Regions from separate parts of the Homo sapiens genome. Here all the other regions are linked to region 1. Evidence: promoter capture Hi-C in human tissues and cell types (Jung and others, 2019). All regions are on one chromosome and are shown on one strand. The core of a region is centred on a gene start or on the middle of the fragment in contact, and the rest is flanking DNA. Distances in the headings are between cores, read along the strand shown. Region 1 holds the start of CLPSL2 (colipase like 2). Region 2 overlaps SLC26A8 (solute carrier family 26 member 8). Region 3 has its middle 27 kb from the start of LINC03135. Region 4 overlaps FKBP5 (FKBP prolyl isomerase 5). Region 5 overlaps SRPK1 (SRSF protein kinase 1).

Region 1 (2,818 bases), core at 90-2,589:
ATTACTCTGTGACAGCTAGTGTTAATACAGGGAGGGCTCACGGAAATAATGGATACAAGGCCCTCTGAGTGCGGTGGGGGCTGTTATTCTTGGCTGTTATTCCCCACCAAGACAGGATTCCTCGGTTCATTTCTTAAGCGAAACTTCAAAAGCAGAAGCAGGCTGGGAGTGGTGGCTCACGTCTGTAATCCCACCACTTTGGGAGGCCGAGGCAGGAGAATCTCTTGAGCCCATGAGTTCAAGACCAGCCTGGACAACATAAGGACAACCTGTCTCTATAACAAATATTAACAATACAAAATTAAAAAAAAATAGAAATTAAAAAAAAGCAGAAGCAGGCAGGTGGGGTGAGGTGGAAGCTTCATCCATAGGGAAGTCCTGAGGAAGGCCTGCCTCCCCCGGTTCCAGGATTGCTCTGTGCAGCTCTAGCTCTCCCTTAACCCTCCTCCCTATTCTGAGTTTTCTTCTCTTCCCACTTCTCCATTTTGCCCCCACATCTTGACTTTCACACAATTCACAGACAAATCCTTAGACAATTAATAGAATGATTAAGACTGCAAGAGATTTAAGACTTAGAGACCATCTTGTCCCACCTCCTGGTTCTTACAGAAGAGGAGAATGGGGCCTGCAGCGGGTGTGAGCAGCCCAGAGGGTGGGGCTGGATTATCCCGAAGGTAAGGGGAGAATCTGGGGCTGCAAGGGCAGACAGAGAATCAACATCAGGAAGGAAGCTCTTTTTATTTCAGCATATATGTTTTGTGCCGTTTATAAAAATAAAGTTTTGAGGCCAGGTGCGGTGGCTCACACCTGTAATCCCAGCACTTTGGGAGGCTGAAGCAGGACCATCACTTGAGGCCAGGAGTTAGAGACCAGCCTGGGCGACATGGGGAGACCCCCGTCTCTACAGAAATTTTTAAAATTATCCCGGCGTGGTGGCGCACACCTGTAGTCCCAGCTACTCGGGAGGCTGAGGCAGGAGGATCACTTGAACCTGGGAGGCGGAGATGGCAGTGAGCCGAGATCACGCCACTGCACTGGGCGACAGTGCGAGACTCCGTCTGTAAAATAAATAAATACAATAAAATAGAGTTTTATCTTACAATAAAAATAGAGTTTTATCTTACAGTTTCAAGCTTCTACTTGGAAGTAACACGTATGGAGGCTCCCAGGGCCCCTACAGTCTGGAATCCCGCCCGTGCGAGCCTGAGCGCCTTTCCTCCCTCCTTCCCTTCCGCAGGCGTCCTCGCCCTCCACGTCCCTCCTCCGCCGGGGTGGCCTGGGGCGCCGGGTCACGTGGCCGGGGAAGAGGTTTTATCCCGCGGCCCCTCGGAACCCCGCCGCTGCTCTGCCGCCCAGGCCCATGGCCGCAGCCCTGGCGCTCGTGGCGGGGGTCCTGTCGGGGGCGGTGCTGCCCCTCTGGAGCGCGCTTCCGCAATATAAAAAGGTGAGCCGGGGAGCGCGCCCAGCCGGCCGCGACCGCAGGAGAGGGTGGCCCCGCCGCCGGGGCACTGGAGCCCGAAGGCGCCGGGCAGCCTGAAAGGGAGAGGTGGGTCCGGAACCACACCCAGGCGGGTAGCCTGGGGCATCCTCAGACGGACTTCAAAAGCCGCTTCACTTTCCCCTGGTGGCCTCAGAGGGGAGAGAAATTGGCCTATGACCAGCACCCTCGCTCCCTCCACCTCCCCCGCCCGTGCCCCTTCCGATGGCCTCAGTCCTGGGCTCGCTTCCCTCCCCAAACTGCTCACAGGCAAACCCACCCTGCATGCTCTGGTTTCTCCTCCTCTTCTTCCACCTCCTCTCACTGTCTAGTGATTCTTCCAGGCACGAGGGCTCTCCCCTTTTCTCCTCTTTCTCTCCCTCTTTTTCGAGCCCGCAGCCCCTTCATTCTCATCCCCCAACCCTGCCCCGCAAAATGGGACTTAAGAGTACACACCCCATGGGACTCATGGAGGTGAGGGGGGTCCAGGAAAGGAGAGGCCGAGGGAAAAGTGCTAATCCCCCTCTCCTCCTCTCTGCTGCCCTGGGTCCTGCTGAGGGGCCGGGGTGGGGCTGGGGGGGGAACCAGCCCCCCAAGGGGTGACAACCTCATGACTTCTCCTGGATCCCTGGGCTCTTTGGCAATGGTGGGAACCCTCCCCTACCCGCCCACACGACTCAGGGATTGCTCCCAGCCTGGCAGACATTCTGCCTGTCCCCACAGAAAATCACAGACAGGTGCTTCCACCACTCTGAGTGCTACAGTGGCTGCTGCCTCATGGACTTGGACTCCGGTGGAGCCTTCTGTGCCCCCAGGGCCAGAATAACCATGATCTGCTTGCCCCAGGTGAGGCCCTAGTATGGGGCAACTTCTGGCAAGTAGAGAAGCGGGCAGGGAGGTTAAAAAAAAAACACCTGGCCCCACCTGTTTTTTCACCTCTGTCTGGAGTGCCCTTCTTCTTCTCCACTTGGCAAACTCCTACTCATGGTGCAAAACAACTCCAGCCACCTCCTCTGAGAAGGCTTCCCTCCTTGGAGCTCCTGTACCCTGGGGTCAGACCCTCAGCAGACCATGTATCTCCCTAACTGGCCATGTCTTTTCTCTGCCTCTCCCAGTGGTTGGAACTCTTCAAGGGCAGGGATCGCATCATATTCATCTATGAAGCACCTACCCCCAGCTTAGTATCTGCACATAGTAGGTGCTCAATAAATGCTTATTGTTGTTTGTTTGTTTGTTTCGAGATGGAGTCTCGCTCTGTCACCCAGGCTAGAGTGCAATGGCATGATCTCGGCTCACTGCAACCTCTGCCTCCTGGGTTCAAGCGATTCTTGGGCCTCAGCC
Region 2 (2,818 bases), core at 140-2,639, 230 kb after region 1:
TTGGCGTTTATGATAATAATTTCTTTTCTTTTCTTTTTTTCTTTTTTTTTTTTGAGACAGAGTCTCACTCTGTTGCCCAGGCTGGAGTGCAGTGGCACAATCTTGGCTCACTGCAAGCTCCGCCTCCCGGGTTCACGCCATTCTCCTGCCTCAGCCTCCTGAGTAGCTGGGATTACAGGTGCCTGCCACCACGCCCAGCTAATTTTTTGTATTTTTAGTAGAGATGGGGTTTCACCATGTTAGCCAGGATGGTCTCGATCTCCTGACCTCATGATCTGCCTGCCTCGGCCTCCCAAAGTGCTGGGGTTACAGGCGTGAGCCACCATGCCCGGCCTATTTCTTTGCTTTTCTTTACCAGTAGTGTACGTATCCCTACACAATACAGTTTAATTTGCTCCCATTTTGAACTTTATATTAAGAGTTATACTGAACACAATTTTATTTCTGCTTTTTTTTTTTTTTTTTTTGAGACAGAGTCTCGCTCTGTTGCCCAGGCTAGAGTGCAGTGGTGTAATCACAGCTCGCTACAGCTTCAACCTCCCAGGCTCAGGGAATCGTCCCACTTCAGTCTCTCAAGTAGCTGGACTACAGGTATGCACCACCATGCCCATCTAGATTTTTTGTAGTTTTCATAGAGACAGGGTGTCACTGTGTTGCCAGGCTGGTCTTGAGCTCCTGGGCTCAAGCAGTCCACCCGCCACAACCTCCCAAAGTGCTAGGATTATAGGCATGAGCCATTGCACCTAAGCATAACTGATTGTTATATGCTGATTTAGTATCCAGCAACATTCATAAAATCTTACTATTTTCTTTGTTTTTCTTTTTTTATGCCTTTTTAAAATTTTTTTTGCTTTTAAAAAAGTCATATCAATTTTCTTTATATTCTTTTGAATTCTTTGCATAAAAATCATCTGTGAATAATGAAGCTTTATTCATTTATAATTCTTATACTTTGTACTTCTTTTTCTTGCTTTAATATACTGTGTATGCACTCCATTATAATGTTGTAATGTTGAATAGCCCCTATTTACTTTTTTTCTTTTTTTTGTGTGTGACTGTCTTGCTCTGTCACCCAGGCTGGAGTGCGATCTTGGCTCACTGCAGCCTCAACCTCCCAGGCTCAAGTGATCCTTCCACCTCAGCCTCCCAAAGTAGCTGGGACTACAGGCGCTTGCACCACCACACCTAGTTAAATTTTTTTTTTTTTTTTTTTTTTTTAGTAGAGACAAGGGTTTCACCATGTTGCCCAGTCTGGTCTTGAACTCCTGAGCTCAAGCGATCTGCCTGCCTTGGCCTCCCAAAGTGCTGGGATTACAGGCATGAGTCACCACACCTGGCCCCCATTTACTCTTGAAAAGCAGCGTGTAGCATGAAGAAAAAATCTTTTGTTAGTTTTAAATAACTAACCAATGCTGGGAAGGTAAGAGAATTACTGGGTTAACAATCTGAGAATTAAGTTATCTAGTCTCATTTAAGTTTAGGCCATAGTGAAATAGAGGGAATTAAAATTTCCAAACTTTCCAACACCTTAAAATTTTCAAAAATTTTAAACTAATTTTAGAATTACAGAAAAGTTACAAAAATAATGCAGTTTCCATATATCCCTTCCACAGCTTCTCCTAATGTTAATATTTTATATAGTCATAGTATATTGATCAGAGCTAGGAAATTAACATTAGAAATTAAAAACTTTATTTGAATCTCATCAGTTTTTTTACTAATGTCTTTCATTTTGTTCTAGGATTCTATCCAGAGTCTCACATTTCATTTAGTTGTTATTTCCCCTTATTCCTGCAATCTATAACAGTTCCTTAATTTTTACCTGTCTTTCATGACTTTGACAAATTAAGAGTATTAATAGATCAGTTATTTTGTCAAACACTCCTCAATTTCGGTTTGTCTTATATTTCCTTATGATTGTACTAAGGTTATACACTTTTGGCAAGAATACTACAGAAATGATGTTGTATCTTTCTCATTGTATCATATCACAGGATTCATGATATCCATATATTTTACTACTGGTGATGCTCACATTAATCACTTAGTTAAGCTATTTTCTCCTAGGTTTTCTATTGTAAAGTGGTGGGGTAGTTAATAAATATCTCGAGGGAGATACTTTGAAAATATGCAAATCCTGTTTCTTAGTTTGCAAATTTTCACCCACTGGTTTTAGCATCCACTGGGTAGATTTTATGTACAATTATTACTGTAGTGTTTTCATGAAGGTGATTTTGTATTTTCTTCTTTAATTCTACATTTATAAATTGGAATTCTACTGTAAGGAAGATCCAGCACCTTTTTAATAAGGTCTTCATCATATAGTATTTTTGTTTCATTTGAATAAAATTATTGTCATCAGGTATTCAAATGTAAGTACAATTTTTGAATTATTCACACTACAAATTATCTTATTATTCACATCAATTAAACTAATGTTCAATCCCTTAATCAAGTATTAAGAGCTGGTTGGATTCATTCATTCATATAGCTATGAAATCTTTTTTTTTTCCAATGGAGTCTCGCTCTGTTACCCAGGCTGGAATGCAGTGGTGTGATCTCAGTTTACTGCAGCCTCTGCCTTCCAGGTTTAAGCAATTCTCCTGCCTTAGCCTCCCGAGTAGCTGGGATTACAGGCACATACCACTACACCTGGCTAATTTTTGTATTTTTAGTAGAGACAGGGTTTTGCCATATTGGCTAGGCTGGTCTCGACCTCCTGACCTCAAGTGATTCACCTCCCTCAGCCTCCCAAAGTGTTGGGATTACAGGTGTGAGCTACCATAACCAGTTATGCAATCATTTTTATTCAACAAAC
Region 3 (2,818 bases), core at 172-2,671, 210 kb before region 1:
ACAGTATCATGGGGCTTTGGCCTCCACATCTCAGGTAACAGGAGTGAAGGGCCACTGGGATACAGACAAGAGGCTGCCTTCAGAGGAGGGACAAAGCCAGCTTACCGAGTATCTACTATGTTCTAGTTTGGGGATGATGGACTGGGTGCTGAGGATGGTGATGAGTAAGGCAGTGTTCCTGATCCCTCAGTGGGAGAAGGGGAATCACATTTTGTTAACTACAGGTAAAGGCTGGTGTCATGTTAGGAAGACTCTGGTAGCCACAGAGGGCAATAGGATACACATGGGTTTAAGTTTTTTATTTTTATTTTTTGAGACAGAGTCTCGCTCTGTCGCCCAGGCTGGAGTGCAGTGGCGCGATCTCAGCTCACTGCAAGCTCCGCCTCCTGGGTTCGCGTCATTCTCTTGCCTCAGCCTCCTGAGTAGCTGGGATTATGGGCGCCCACCACCAAGCCTGGCGAATTTTTCATATTTTCAGTAGAGACGGGGTTTCACCATGTTAGTCAGGATGGTCTTGATCTCCTGACCTCGTGATCCGCCCTCCTCGGCCTCCCAAAGTGCTGGGATTACAGGTGTGAGCCAGGACACCCAGCGGGTTTAAGTTTTTAAGACAAAAAAATTCAGGAGTCCTTAGTGTGGAAACACGGTTGTGAGCAGATACAATACAAACTCATCAAGTCATTCACTAGAACTAGAGTAACTAGAATTAGTCATTGCATCCCCAAATACTCATCAACTGTTTATTCTTACCACTTATTTCCCTAGTCAGAAGCTTTAAGGAGATAACTTTAAGCCAAGAACAATGCCTACAATAAGGAGTTATCTTATGAAAACACATTATCCCAGAGCAGACCCAGGCTGGAAATATTTAATACCTCAAGAAAGGCTTAGATACAGACCGGACCCGGTGGCTCACGCCTGTAATCCCAGCATTTTGGGAGGCTGACGCAAGTTGATCACCTGAGGTCAGGAGCTCGAGACCAGCCTGGCCAACATGGTGAAACCCCATCTCTACTAAAAATACAAAAAATTAGCTGGGTGTGGTGGCAGACACCTGTAATCCCAGCTACTCAGGAGGCTGAGGCAGGAGAATCACTTGAATACTGGAGGCAGAGGTTGCAGTGAGCCGAGATTGTGCCACTGCACTCCAGCCTGGGCAACAAGAACAAAACTCCCTCTCAAAAACAAAAACAAAAAAGAAAGCCTTAGCCACATGTTGTATTTGCAATGTGTCAACTAAGCCAAGTTGGAAACACATGTCCCAGAATTCCTTCCCTGCTTAGTTCTGGGTTAGCAAGGACCAATGACCTTGTGGAGATTTGAGAGGTGGAAACAATGTAGCAGCCACATTTTTTTTTCTAATTTTAGAGACAAGGTCTCACTCTGTTGCCCAGGCTGGAGTGCAGTGGCGTGATCATAGCTCACTGAAGCCTACGACTCATGGCTTCAAGTATCCTCTCACCTCAGCCTCTCAAGTAGCTGGGACTATAGGCATGCACCACCATGTGTAGCTAATTAATTTGTGTGTGTGTGTGTGGTAGTGATGGGGTCTCACTATGTTGCCCAGGCTGGTCTTGAACTCCTGGCCTCAAGCAATCCTCCTGCCTCAGCCTCTCAAAGTGCTGGGATTACAGGTGTGAGCCACCATCCCTGGCCCCTAAAGTGTATTTTAAAAAGATGCCTCTGCTTAACACGTTGGCAAGCTTCCCACCATAGATTTATTCCAAAGTAGACTATGAGGCCCATGGCTCTGCTGCCATTTCAGTTCCACCGAATGTGGGAATTCTAAGGAAGTACCAACATCTCCTTCCATACACCAAGAGCATCACTCATCATACTAGAAAAAGACCTATTTTAAAATGGTGCAAGGGCATCAGGTGACCTGACGGCCATGGGCAGGCTGCATCACCATTCTGGGTCCTCCCCATATTCTTGATTCTCCAAGGTTCCCTCATCTTTAGAAGACAAAGAATCCCTGCCTTATAAACTGTGCTTTAATTTTTCTAACTATAGGCTGCAGTTACCCAAACAAGATGCTGTCAAAAATCTTAAGAGTTGTATTTAACGCTGTCTCTTTCTTGCCGTGTATTATTAAGGTCACACGTGGAGATTCTGGGCAATTACAGATAGTGCCTTCTCCTCCCACAGAAATCTCCATGTCAGACATGTAGTAGAGAAAAATCTGAAGGGAAGTACTGAAGGTCTACCAAAACTTTTCAAGCCATCAGAGAATGTCCTTTTATGTACTTTCGTCAGTCACTGTCATTCAGATGCATAAGTAGCCAGCTGATGGAAAAAATACACAGCTGGGTTGGGGAATTCTGAGTTTCAGGATTTTGACTAACTGGCTCAAATTCAATGCGTTTTGTCACCAATACTGGAGATAGTCTCCAGCCCCAGAGAATACAGGCTTCACATGTACCATACTAAAAGTGGAGTTCAGTGTGCTGCTAAGGCCAAGTAAGTATAGACAAAGCCCTTCACTGGCAGTCCTCGTTTTGGAGGTTGTGCAAGCTGCCTCTGAATTTCTGAGATCACACATTTACAGCCAGGAATCTTCTCTGGCTCATCCTCAAGATCCCTAGGGTGATCATTATTTTCTTACAAAAAAAAAGCACGCAAATAAAGGGAATTTATTATGGTTGAGATAGGGTCTTGCTCTGTCACCCAGGCTGGAGTGCAGTGGCATGATCATGGCTCACTGCAGCCTCAACCTCCCAGGGCTCAAGTGATCCTCCCACCTCAGCCTGTAACTGGGCCTAAAGGTGCATACCATCATGTCTGTCTAATTTTTGTACTTTTTGTAGAGACAGGGTCT
Region 4 (2,818 bases), core at 192-2,691, 160 kb before region 1:
ACAAGAAAAAGCGTAGGGGGACAGATTCTAAAAACTGATTTGTAACCATTAGGATCCTCATATAAAGAGTAAAAATCAAAATTTCCTTGAGAAAGAATAAATCCCATCAAACTAACCTAAGTTTTCTCTTCCACACAGAGACAAATTATGAAAAGGAAGTAAAAGTTTACAATTCAGTAAAAACCTTTTTGAGTCCATAATGTTATTCTTTCCCCGGAACCTTGAGAAATGTGATTTAGATAAGATTACTATTAAGATATATCATTAATTTGAAGACTGTTATTAGAGACAATTTTAGGTCTCTAATAACCATGGTAGGTAGAGCCAAGAGGATTTGCTGATGGATGACATGTAGGAGATAAGAAAAAGAGGAGTCAGCCAGGCACAGTGGCTCACGCCTGTAATCCCAGCACTTAGGGAGGCCAAGGTAGGTGGATCACCTGAGGTCAGGAGTTCAAGACCAGTCTGGCTAACATGACGAAACCCCGTCTTTGCTAAAAATACAAAAATTAGCTGGGTGTGGTGGCACGTGCCTGTAGTCCTAGCTACTTGGGAGGATGAGGTGGGAGAATCACCTGAACCCGGAAGGCAGCAGTTGCAGTGAGCTAAGATGCGCCATTGCACTCCAGCCTGGCCCACTGCACTCCAGCTTGGGCAACAGAAAAAGAAAAAGAGGAGTCAAGGATCTTTTTCCTTAGATCAATTAAAAGGAAGCAAAACAAATTAGTGAAACACAATATATAGGGTAGAAGAAATTAAGTGTCCACTAAATGTCTGACACTCTTCTTTGTAACTGTTTGTATTAGTCCATTCTCACGCTGCCATGAAGAACTGCCTGAGACTGGGTAATTTATAAAGAAAAGAGGTTTAATTGACTTACAGTTTCACATGGCTGGGGAAGCCTCAGGAAACTTACAATCATGGCAGAAGGGGAAGCAAACACACCCTTCTTCACATGGCGGCAGAAGAGGGAAGAGCCAGCAGGGTTTCCCTGCCAGACCCTTATAAAACCATCAGATCTCGTGACAACTCACTCTATCATGAGAACAGCATGGGAGAAAATGCCCCCCCGATTCAGTTACCTCCCAGTGGGTCCTTCCCACGACACGTGGGGATTGTGGGAACTACAATTCAAGACGAGATTTGGGTAGGCACACAGCCAAACCGTTATCACTGTCACACAACCTGTGGGAGTGAAAACTATTCCCATTTGACAGATTAAAAAAACTGAATGCTCCACGTAGTTAAGTAACTTGTCTAAAGTCATAAAAGTATCAGGTAGCAATTCCAAGATTCAAAAATCAAGTCCATCACTTACAAAGTCTATCTGTCCCCTCCTCCATACCACTTCATTGTCTCTTTACACAGAAATGACAGAAATTTAGTAAATCACGTATCTATAACAACATATTGTAATGGGTGATCAGTGTCTATTGTTCTTGTTCACTCTATAGCCGGCTTTAGTTCCAGGTTTTATTTATTTTATTTATTTATTTTTTTGAGACGGAGTTTCCCTCTGTCACCCAGGCTGGAGTGTAGTGGCGTAATCTCTGCTCACTGCAACCTCCACCTCCCAGGATCAAGCAATTCTCCTGCCTCACCCTCCCAAGTAGCTGGGATTACAGGTGCCCACAACCACTCCCAGCTAATTGTTTGTATTTTTAGTAGAGATGGGGTTTTGCCATGTTGGCCAGACTGGTCTCAAATTCCTGACCTCACGTGATCTGCCCACCTCGGCCTCCCAAAGTGCTGGGATTACAGGCGTGAGCCACCGCACCTGGCCTAGTTCCAGGTTTTATATCTGGTTTCACATCTAAGTGTATTTGGTGATGCTATAAAGAAAAGGCAAACCAGTAAAGACTGAGAAGATTTCAAAAAGAACAAGGTGATCTTGGTTTTGAACAGGACCACCTTTAGGGTAATCTTTTTTCTCCTCCCCCAGATAGCTAACTTGTTTAAAGGAGGAAAAACCAGGACATTTTAACCTTGATAAATGAAAGTATAACACAATAAATTTCTATGAAATAGATTTGTTCCAGAAAACCAAGACGGTCTTTTGAGTGAAAAAGTAAAATCAACCATTTAATCTAAAATTTCCCAGGAAAGTACATTCTAACAAGATGAAAGACAAAAGATTAGTCATTGCCCTTTCTTTTGTTCTTTCTCTCTTTTTTTCAAACTGAGACAGAGCCTTGTTCTGTTGCCCAGGCTGGAGTACAGTGGCATGATCACAACTCTCTGCAGCCTTGAACTCCTGGGCTCAAGAGATCCTCCTACCTCAGTCTTCTGGGTAGCTGGGACTAGAGGCATGTGCCATCACATGTGGCTAAATGTTAAACTTTTTGCAGAGACAAGGTCTCTATGTTGCTCAGGATGGTCTCAAATTCCTGAGGTCAAGCCATCCTCCTGCCTCAGCCTCCCAAAGTGCTGGGATTACAGGTGTGAGCCACCACGACTGGCTCCCTTTGTTAACAGAAACAGAAAAAAATAAAATGACATAAAACGTAATAAAATACAGGAAGAAAAACCAGGATCTAATGATATAACTAATGAGACTGGAATAGGGTGGAAATAATGGGGAAGTGGGAACAGGTTAATAAGGATGAGGGGGAAATGACACTTTTGAGTATATCGTTTTTTATATAGTTTAAAATCATGGTAATGTTTCACATATCCAAAATAAAACGAATAATTAAAATTAACCAGAGCATGGCAGGAACCCAAAATGGAATATACAGGGTAACAAATGAATAATTTGTTACAATTGAGTAACATAATCACATTGAAGGGGGTGAGGAAGAAAGAAGTTACCTCAGTT
Region 5 (2,818 bases), core at 126-2,625, 140 kb after region 1:
AGAACGCGACGTCAGGAGATCGAGACCATCTCGGCTAACACAGTTAAACCTCGTCTCTACTAAAAATGCAAAAACAAAATTAGCCAGGCATGGTGGCGGGCGCCTGTAGTCCCGGCTACTCGGGAGGCTGAGGCAGGAGAATGGCATGAACCCGGGAGGGGGAGCTTGCAGTGAGCCGAGATCACGCCACTGCACTCCAGCCTGGACGACAGAGCAAGACACCGTCTCAAAAAAAAAAAAAAAAAAGAAAAATCTTGCTGGACAAAATTTTGACAAAATGAACTAAAAATATTTTAAATGTATATACCATTCGAAGTATTTATCCTAAGGAAATAATCACTGATGTAAGCAATGATTTGTCCAAAAGATTATTCACTATAGCTGTGAATTAATTGTGAAAAACTGGAAACAGCCCATAGTGGAATATTTAATACACGAAAAATACTCATGATAATGTTAACTAGGGAAAAGTATGCCCAGTGATTCCATTTTTGTCTTTAAAGGTATATACAGGCCAGGTGCGGTGGCTCACGCCTGTAAGCCTAGCACTTTGGGAGGCCGAGGTGGGCGGATCATGAGGTCAGGAGATGGAGACCATTCTGGCTAACACGGTGAAATCCCGTCTCTACTAAAAATACAAAAAATTAGTGGGGCGTGGTGGCACACACCTGTAGTCCCAGCTACTCTGGAGGCTGAGGCAGGAGAATCACTTGAACCCAGGAGGCGGAGGTTGCAGAGAGCCGAGATTGCACCACTGAACTCCAGCCTGGGCGACAGAACGAGACTCTGTCTCAAAAACAAAAAAAAAAAAAAATATATACACACACACACACACACACACACACACACACACACACACACACACGTTTATTAATAAAAATTAAAATAAATTATGGTTGGCTGGACACAGTGGTATGTGCCTGTAATCCCAGCTACTCGAGAAACTGAGACAGGAGAATCGCTTGAACCCAGGAGGCTGAGGTTGCAGTGAGCTGAGATCTCACCACTGCACTCCAGACTGGATGACAAGAGCGAAGACTCTGCCTCAAATAAATAAATAAATAAATTAATTAATTAATTAATTAAATTATGGCATATCAACTTAATGGAATGCTAGATGAGGTTCTCTTTCTGTCCTGACATGGAACTATTTCTAAGACTCAGTGAAAAAGGCAGACCCTAAAAAAAATAGTAAGGCTGCACTATATGGAATATAGAACCAATTTCCAAGGTGCACTGCTAAGTGTAAAAAGCATCAAATACTATTTCATTTTTTAAATTGTTTCAAATTTACTGGCTCTACTTCCTACTGAATAAAAATGTTAGATATTTAAGTATTTTCTCTTGTAAATTTTTTTTTTAATTTGTGGCCAAATTCAAGTAAATTTTCAATATATCTCCCAAATGACTCCACAAATCAGTGTTAGAGCTGAATTAATTTTACTACCAAATGTATACTAAATCCATAATTATTTAACTGCAAATAAAGTGAAAATTACTGTCCAAACCAGCTTCCTAAGGTAAGTAATAAAATCAGTAAGTATGAAATCCATTCTGGAATTATGTTCCATAGAAACAACTTCAAAAACAGACATATAGGTCAGGCACGGTAGCTCACACCTGTAATACCAGCACTATGAGAGGCCAAGGCAGGTGGATCACTCGAGGTCGAGTTTGAGACCAGCCTGGCCAACATGGTGAAACCCTGTCTCTACCCCGAAAAATACAAAAATTAGCCGGGCGTGGTGGCAGGTGCTTGTAATCTCAGCTACTTGGGAGGCTGAGGCAGGAGAATGGCTTGAGCCCGGGAGGCAGAGGTTGCAGTGAGCTGAGAATGCGCCACTGCACTCCAGCCCGGGTGACAGAGTGAGACTCTGTCTCAAAAAACAAAACAAAACAAAACAAAAACAGACACACACTGTTAAATTATAAAAGCTTATGACAAACAAATAAAGGCTCACAGCTATTGGTATAAACACTGAAAACAAATGTTCAGAGGGAGATAGATGATTGTGCTGTTTCATAGACACAGGACAGTATGTCATGAAAGGGCACCCAAACCCCCAAGCATCCAGAGGTCTCTCATTCAGAAGCCTCTTTCAACTCAGCTTCTACCTTACCTGTTGTAAGACACACCAAAAGCACTGTCACTTAGAAACACATGATTGGTAGCCAGGGCTTTGGGTATGTCAGACCTGGGTTCAAATCCCAGCTTTGCAATTTTCTAGGGGAGTAATCTGACAAACCTCAATTCTCTTATCTGTAAAGTAAAATGGAGATCATCACCAACTAGTTAATGTTAGTAAATAAAAGCACAGCGTCCACAAAAGTAAAATGAAGAATTGTCTAAATAAGAAAATTTAAAATCCCAAAGTCAAATACTCCAGCACAGTGAAAAGAACCCAAAGGAAATCCACTCTAACAAACACAGAGCTGGAAAGGGACCCTGAATTCCAAGTTTTGGTTCTTCTGTCACCAGCTTCAAGACCCTGGGTTTAAGATCTGCAGTACCAGGGGACTGAAAATCCCTTCTGCCTGTGACACAACACGACTAAATTACTAAGGATGCTATTTACTGTAACAGTTCCAAAACTTTCTAAAATTTTCATTTAAACGCTTTGTTTTTATATCTTTAGGTCCTGATCAGTTTTCACTATGACTGAACTGCCAGTCAGGATATATACATAAGACTGTTTCCTTAACTAACTTGTCTAAGGTCAGATTGCTAAAAAGTAGCAAAATCAGAATTCAAAACCACATCTATCTCCAAAGACCAAACTCTATGGCATGCTTCTTCCTCAAATCTTCTTCCTGACTC

Evidence for each region. Contacts are between HindIII fragments. The study calls those that stand out against the background at their distance.
Region 2: a contact is called between a fragment that was not itself captured here and the fragment with the promoter of CLPSL2 in region 1, in 2 of the 25 tissues and cell types used here (aorta and stomach).
Region 3: a fragment that was not itself captured here is called in contact with the fragment with the promoter of CLPSL2 in region 1 in 1 of the 25 tissues and cell types used here (liver).
Region 4: a fragment that was not itself captured here is called in contact with the fragment with the promoter of CLPSL2 in region 1 in 1 of the 25 tissues and cell types used here (stomach).
Region 5: a fragment that was not itself captured here is called in contact with the fragment with the promoter of CLPSL2 in region 1 in 1 of the 25 tissues and cell types used here (pancreas).

Annotation. Positions count from the first base shown.
Region 1 is chr6:35,775,259-35,778,076 of GRCh38, forward strand. CLPSL2 (colipase like 2) reads left to right here and starts at 1,340. Exons shown (of 3, transcript NM_207409.4): 1 at 1,340-1,444; 2 at 2,201-2,323. The coding sequence starts at 1,361. RefSeq lists a silencer at 1,321-1,450. The HindIII fragment of the contact is 15,017 bases long and covers 747-2,818 here.
Region 2 is chr6:36,003,627-36,006,444 of GRCh38, forward strand. All of the region lies in intron 3 of SLC26A8 (solute carrier family 26 member 8), which reads right to left. The region is part of intron 2 of LOC105375034 (a long non-coding RNA gene); the gene reads left to right. Among named protein-coding and RNA genes, the nearest start is that of SLC26A8, 20 kb to the right of the region's middle. The HindIII fragment of the contact is 5,572 bases long and covers 1-2,818 here.
Region 3 is chr6:35,569,703-35,572,520 of GRCh38, forward strand. No RefSeq gene overlaps it. Among named protein-coding and RNA genes, the nearest start is that of LINC03135, 27 kb to the left of the region's middle. RefSeq lists an enhancer at 1-4. The HindIII fragment of the contact is 3,769 bases long and covers 1-2,818 here.
Region 4 is chr6:35,611,733-35,614,550 of GRCh38, forward strand. The region is part of intron 5 of FKBP5 (FKBP prolyl isomerase 5); the gene reads right to left. Among named protein-coding and RNA genes, the nearest start is that of MIR5690, 52 kb to the right of the region's middle. The HindIII fragment of the contact is 7,513 bases long and covers 1-2,818 here.
Region 5 is chr6:35,915,179-35,917,996 of GRCh38, forward strand. All of the region lies in intron 2 of SRPK1 (SRSF protein kinase 1), which reads right to left. Among named protein-coding and RNA genes, the nearest start is that of SRPK1, 4.5 kb to the right of the region's middle. The HindIII fragment of the contact is 5,314 bases long and covers 1-2,818 here.